Linked DNA regions of Homo sapiens: region 2 is linked to region 1. Evidence: promoter capture Hi-C in human tissues and cell types (Jung and others, 2019). All regions are on one chromosome and are shown on one strand. Each heading gives the region's core, a stretch centred on a gene start or on the middle of the fragment in contact. The rest is flanking DNA. Distances are from core to core; before and after follow the strand shown.

Region 1 (3,312 bases), core at 538-3,037:
GATTGTGCCACTGCACGCCGGCCTGGGTGACAGAGGGAGACTCCGTCTCAAAAAAAAAAAAAATTTTATTGGTTACGTATACTATTCCCTGTCTTTACCCTGGTTCAATAAATCTAAAATTGTTTCACTATCACTAATATTCTAATGAGCATTTTGATACCCACAGATTTTTTTTCCTCCATTATCTGGATTATTTCCTCAGCATAAGTACCTAGAAGAATTACATAATTAGTGGCATAAGTAATGGGAATTAAATTTTTATTACTTTTGATATGTATCGTAAATTGCATTCCAAAAGCTTTTACTGTGCTACCCCAAATAAATTTTTATAGCAGGATACTGGGTATCCTGCTATAAAATTTTTACAATTTTTATTTTAGATTCAGGAGGTACATACACAGGTTTGTTCCCTGACTATACTGTGTGTTGCTGAGGTTTACTGTGAATGATCCTGTCACCCAGATACTGAGCATAGTGCTGGTATATTTCCCAGTCAAAGATGGTCCTGTTTAAATATTGTTGATTTGGGAAGAGTAAGGTTAAATTTCAAAAAGAGAAGTTCTTGCCTATTTGGAAATACATACTGAAAACATTTAAGATGAAATGAAATGGTCTCAGAGATTTGTTCACAAATAATCTGGAAAGAATAGTGGGGTAGGGTTATAGAGGAAAAAAGATTGGCCTTGTTTTGATAATTTTTAAAGCTGAGTTATGGGTACATGGGAGTTTATTATATTATTGTCTCTACTTCTGTGTATGTTTGAACTTTTCTTATAACAAATAAAAAAGAAAGAAAAAGAAAAACGTGACCCTGTCTAAACCTCTGATGTTTAGTCGTTAGTGCTCTCTGAGGTTTTACATTTCTTCTTGCTGTCACTTTTCTTCACTGTCCAAACAGGGTTTTGCCATCATGCACAGTTTCCTTATCTGGGAGTGTGGAAATAGGGTATAGGTAAAATCAGGAGCTTTTCAGAAGAAAATAACAGCTTCTAACTAGTTCTGAGTCTCCTTTAATTCAAATAAAAATCTGTGGCCTTTAATTAAAACAAAAATTGATCATGATGTGATGATATACTTTCTGATATAAATTCATTTAAAAAATGTTTCTGACCAGAAAGAAGAATATTAAAGTCATTCATCAGCATTTATCAAGTGCTCACTGGTGAAGCCTCTACTGTGTCCCTTGAGGCATTTGAAAACGACAATGTTCCTTGCCCTCAAGACGATAACAGCCTGTTTGGAGACACACAGCAAATGCTCAGAGATATTTAGATACAACATAATTTATGAAGGAGTATAAGTACTATACATTAACCAGTATTAGATTCCACATTCATTCTTTCATAGATAGGTACTGAGTGCCTATATTAATATTAATGACATAGAAGGAAATGTTACTATCCATGTAAACTTCACACATTCACACAGGTATCATTTCATCCTTAATCCTTCTTAGAATTGATGTCTTTACTGCTTCTCTTCCACTCTGACTTAATCAGTCCTAGAAATTGTTAATTTTCTTCCTTCTCTGCTGTCTTCAGAGAAGGCACCAGGAAAGGTTCCTTCCAAATCACAAGGAACATGTCATGGGATCCTCTTATAACAAAGCTGTTTTTTTACTTTATTTTATTTATGGTTAGGATTCAAGACTGACGGGCTAATTCAAATTCCTCCTACTACTGAGAAACAGAGTATTATATCAATACTAATAGAAATATCCACGTTGCTTACCTTGCTGTGTTTCTGAGTTCCGTGGTCCTAGCAGTTGTTTAGGAGTATTGTTAAAGTGCTTTTTCATCTGGTTTCATCTGGATATTTCTGATGGAATGTGATGACTTACAGACTTTGCTAGTCTCTGCTGGGTCCCTCTGCCTGTCTGGTTTATAGGCTATTTCTACATGGCTTGGCCCTCAGAATTCCTTCATTTCCTATTAATAAAAACTTAGTATACAGTATTAAGTTATATAAACTGGAAGACTAATAGTGTGTAAAACTTATTTTTAAATTTCTGTTCTTTAATGGACTTTTTATTGTTGAGAAGCGCTATATAACTGAGCTAATTCAATTTAGTAGAGAAGATGGCTCTTTGATTGCAGCTCTCAGATTTTGGGGTTTTATCTTGTCAACTATTCCAGATACTAAGTTTCTTTTAGCTTCTGTTGCATTTGCACCTCTAACTGTTGCTGATTATTTAAATTCTCAAGATATATAAATGCAGTTACTTGCATCCAATTTTTTTTTCTCTTCTTTCCAGCTAGGAGTTCTCCTCTTTGTCATTCTTTCTCTTCCTGTGTTTGTAAATTGTCTTGACAATATAAAAACCTTAAAGTCCAACTTCACTCTTTTCCCTGAAAGCTCAGATCAGTCTTCCCTGCTGCTTCTTCCCAGCTTCAGTCTTCAGACCCGTTAATTCCTCCACAGCAAAGACACCTGAGTGGCAGGGAAATCACTCAGCCCCAGTGTAACTTAGTGAAAGACAGCAGGCTTTACACTCAGACAGTCCTGGTTTTGTGTACTCCAAGTACCACTTACTAGTCATGTAATCCTAAGAAAGTCACTTAGCCTGAGTTTTCCCATTGGTGTAATATGAGTATTAGTTAATAATTTATGGATTAAATGGGATAGTGTTTATAAAGTAATTGGCATAGTGGCTGATATGTGGCAAAATCTTATGAAACGGTAGCTATTCATATATTAACAACAGTATCTCCTGGTGGAGGGGAGAGGAGAATGGGTGGGTACAGGATACAGAATCAAAATGCCAGACAGGCAGACAGGAAACTTTAAAATCTAAAGATGCTGCCCTGTGATTCTAAAGAAGGGCTAAGTGGGGTCACTTTTCTACTTTTGTCCCAGTGGATCATCTTGCCCTTGATGTATCCAGGGCCCCACCACGTACGGATGTGTGGCCAGTGTATCTGAACTAGGTATGGATGTTAAGTAGGATTTTAATAGATGTTTGGGGAGGATGGTGGTATAGAGGAAATAATACAGATAGAGGGAACACTGAGAGCAAAGGAGCTGAACCAAAAATTGTAGAACATTTTCAGGGAACAAAAACCAACCTGCTGGTGATACAGGGTGTAAGTGGGAGCAGTTAAGGGAAGGTAAGTCATGGAAAATTGAAAATAGTTTGTAGATAGCCTTAGATGTCATGCTAGGAAATTGTATTTCATTCTGTAGATAATAATGAACCATTAAAAAATCCTTTTAATTATGGTGTAATATTTGGAGATTTGGATTTCAGGAAGGGTACATTATGTAAACTTGATTAGTAGGTATGGACAATAAAGCATAAGTTACCAACCCCAT
Region 2 (3,755 bases), core at 1,166-3,665, 54 kb after region 1:
CTCACTTTATTTCATTAATTTGATCTTCAATCACTGATACCCTTTCTTCCACTTGATCGAATCAGCTATTGAAGCTTGTGCATGTGTCACGTAGATCTCGTGCCATGGTTTTCAGCTCCATCTTGTCATTTAAGGTCTTCTCTGCACTGTTTATTCTAGCTAGCCATTCATCTAATCTTTTTTCAAGGTTTTTAGCTTCCATGTGATGGGTTCAAACATCCTCCTTTAGCTTGGAGAAGTTTGTTATTACCAACCTTCTGAAGCTTACTTCTGTCAGCTCGTCAAATTCATTCTCCGTCCTGCTTTGTTCCATTGCTGGTGAGGAGCTGTGATCCTTTGGAGGAGAAGAGGCACTCCAGTTTTTAGAATTTTCAGCTTTTCTGCTCTGGTTTCTCCCCATCTTTGTGGTTTTATCTACCTTTGGTCTTTGATGGTGGTGACCTACAGATGGGGTTTTGGTGTGGATGTCCTTTTTGTTGATGTTGATGCTAGTCCTTTCTGTTTGTTAGTTTTTCTTCTAACAGTTAGGCCCCTCAGCTGCAGGTCTGTCGGAGTGTGCTGGGGTTCCACTCCAGACCGTGTTTGCCTGGGTATCACCAGTGGAGGCTGCAGAACAGCAAATATTGCAGAACAGCAAATATTGCTGCCTGATCCTTCCTCTGGAAGCTTTGTCCCAGAGGGGCACCTGCCTGTATTAGGTGTCAGTCGGCCCCTACTGGGAGGTGTCTCCCAGATAGGCTACACGAGGGTCAGGGACCCACTTGAGGAGGCAGTCTGTCCATTCTCCAAGCTCAAACACTGTGCTGAGAGAACCACTGCTCTCTTCAGAGCTGTCAGACAGGGATGTTTAAGTCTGCAGAAGTTTCTGCTGTCTTTTATTCAGCTATGCCCTGCCCCCAGAGGTGGCGTCTACCTTGCTGAGCTGCAGAGGGCTCCACCCAGTTCCAGCTTCCCCTGGCCGCCTTGTTTACCTACTCAAGCCTCAGCAATGGCGGATGCCCCTCCCCCTGCCAGGCTGCTGCCTTGCAGGTCGATCTCAGATTGCTGCACTAGCAGTGAGCAAGGCTCCATGGGCGTGGGAGCCTCTGAGCCAGGCATGGGATATAATCTCCTGGTGTGCCATTTGCTAAGACCATTGGAAAAGCGCAGTATTTGGGCAGGAGTATCCCGTTTTTCCAGATACTATTTGTTGTGGCTTCCCTTGGCTAGGAAAGGGAAATCCCCTGACCCCTTGCACTTCCTGGGTGAGGCGATAACCGGCCCTGCTTCATCTCACCCTCCATGGGCTGCACCCACTGTCCAACCAGTCCCAATGAGATGAACCAGGTACCTCAGTTGGAAATGCAGAAATCACCCATCTTCTGCATCAATCACGCTGGGAGTTGCAGACTGGAGCTGTTCCTACTTGGCCATCTTGGAACAGAATCTGGAAATTCTTTTCTTTAAGAATGTGGAATATTGGCCCCTAATCTCTTCTGGCTTGTAGGGTTTCTACTGAGAGGTCTGCTGTTAGTCTGATGGGCTTCCTTTCGTTAGGTGACCAAGCCTTTCTGTCTGGCTGCCCTTAACATTTTTTTCTTTCATTTTGACCTTGGAGAATCTGATGATTATGTGTCTTGGGGATTATCTTGTAAAGTATCTTACCAGGGTTATCTGCATTTCCTGAATTTGAATGTTGGCCTGTGTAGCTAGATTGCAGAAGTTCTCTGGGATGATACCCTGAAGTATGTTTTCCAAATTGATTCCAGCCTCTGCATCTCTTTTTGGTACCCAAATCTGTCATAGATTTAGTCTCTTTACGTAATCCCATATTGGAGGTTTCGTTCATTCCTTTTTCACTATTCTTGTCTGTCTGTAATTTCAGAAAGACAGTCTTCAAGCTCTGAGATTCTTTCCTCTGCTTGGTCTATTCTGCTATTAATACTTTGAATTGCATTGTGAAGTTCTTGTAGTGTGTTTTTTGGCTTTATAAGGTCGATTATGTTTCTCTCTATACTGGTTATTTTGGCTGTCTACTCCTGCATTGTTTTATCATGTTTCTTAGCTTCTTTGCATTGGGTTACAACATGCTCCTTTAGTTCAGCGAAGTTTGTTTGCTTGTTTTCATCCACATTCTGAAGACTACTTTTGTCATTTCAGCCATCTCAGCCTCAGCCCAGTTCTGAACCCTTGCTGGAGAGGTGTTGTGGTCATTTGGAGGAAAGGGGGCACTCTGGTTTTTTGAGTTTTCATTGTTTTTGCATTGATACTTTCTCATCTTTGTGGGCTTATCTACTTTTGATCTTTAAGGTTGCTCACCTTTGGATGGGTTCTTTTGTGTTTTCTTTTGTTGTTGTTATTGTTGTTTTTTCTTTGTTTGTTTTTCTTTTAACAGCCTGGCCATTCTTCTGTAGGGCTGCTGTGTTTGGCTGGGGGTCCAATCCAGACCCTAGTCACCTCGGTTTTTCTAGTACCTGAAGGTATCATCAGTGAATGCTGCAAAACAGCAAAGATGGCAGCCTGCCCCTCTCTCTGGGAGCTCTGCCCTGAGGGCTACTGACCTGTTGCTGGCCTAAACATGCCTGTACAAGGTGGCTGGAGACCCTGGTTGGGGTCACTAGGAACGAGATCAGGGACCTGCTTAAAGTATCAGTCTGGCTGCTTTTTGGTAGAGCAGCTGTGCTATGTTGAGGATCCCTTCAGCCCCCAATCCAAGGTCTGCAGGGTGGACTAGCTGAGATGCCCAAACAGCAAAGGTGGTGGCCTGCCCCATCTCGTGGGCTCCCCCATTCCAGGGAGAAATTAGAACTCTGTTGGTCATAGAACATGGGCAGGGGTGGCCTGGGGCCCCAGCTGGGAGGACCTGCCCAGCAAGGAGGAATGGATCCTGCCCCCTTTTATAGAAGCAGTCTGGCCACACCTTAACAAGACAGTCATGGAGTCCTGGGGACCCATCCCCGGCCATGTCAGCTTGGACTCACCAAAGCCCACAGGCTGGAATGGCTGAGTCACCCAAACAGCAAAGATGGTGACCTGCTCCTCCCCCTGGGCACCCATCCCAGGGAGAAATCAGACCTCTGTCCTTAGAGCAGGGTAGCCAGAGGCCCTGACTGGGAGGACCTGCCCTGCAAGGAGGAGTGGATTGGGTTCCTGTTTGAAGAAACAGTCTGACTACACCTTGACAAAAGAGCTCTGCCATGCTGGGGAGCTGCCTCTGTGCTGGTCAACTTGCACTCTCCACACCCTGCAGGCTGGAGTGGCTTAGTTGTCCAAACAACCAAGGCGGTGGCCCACACCTCTCCCTCAGGGAGAGATCAGAACTCTGTCCATAGAAAATGGGCAGGAGTGGCCGAAGGTTCCAGATGGGAGGTCCTGCCCAGTGAGGAGGAATGTTTTGGGATACTGCTTAAAGAGGCAATCTGGGCACATTCTGGCAAAGCAGCTCTGCTGTGTTGGGGGGAATCTTTCCTTGTCCAGACCATTTGGATTTTCCAAAGCTCACAGGCTGGAATGGCTGAGTTGACCAAACAGCAGAGATGGTGGCCTGCCTCTGTCCTCCGGGTCTCTGACCCATCTCAGGCAGGCTCCACCCTGTTGCTAGTAGCTGGCTGGAATCCAAGCCAGTAGATCTTATCTTGTGAGGTACCGTGGAAGTGAGGCCCACAGACTGACACTGGCCCCCTGGATTCAGCTCCCTTCCTAGGGGTATATACAGGTCTCCTGCCTTGCTGAGGATCCCAAAGCCAGAGTAGGTAAAGCTCCTGGGTCTCTGTGTG

The links. Contacts are between HindIII fragments. The study calls those that stand out against the background at their distance.
Region 2: a fragment that was not itself captured here is called in contact with the fragment with the promoter of SMCO3 in region 1 in 1 of the 25 tissues and cell types used here (hippocampus).

What each region holds. Positions count from the first base shown.
Region 1 is chr12:14,812,395-14,815,706 of GRCh38, forward strand. SMCO3 (single-pass membrane protein with coiled-coil domains 3) reads right to left here and starts at 1,788. Exons shown (of 2, transcript NM_001013698.2): 1 at 1,732-1,788. The region is part of intron 1 of C12orf60 (chromosome 12 open reading frame 60); the gene reads left to right. The HindIII fragment of the contact is 14,769 bases long and covers 1-3,312 here.
Region 2 is chr12:14,866,061-14,869,815 of GRCh38, forward strand. No RefSeq gene overlaps it. Among named protein-coding and RNA genes, the nearest start is that of MGP, 18 kb to the right of the region's middle. The HindIII fragment of the contact is 5,221 bases long and covers 1-3,755 here.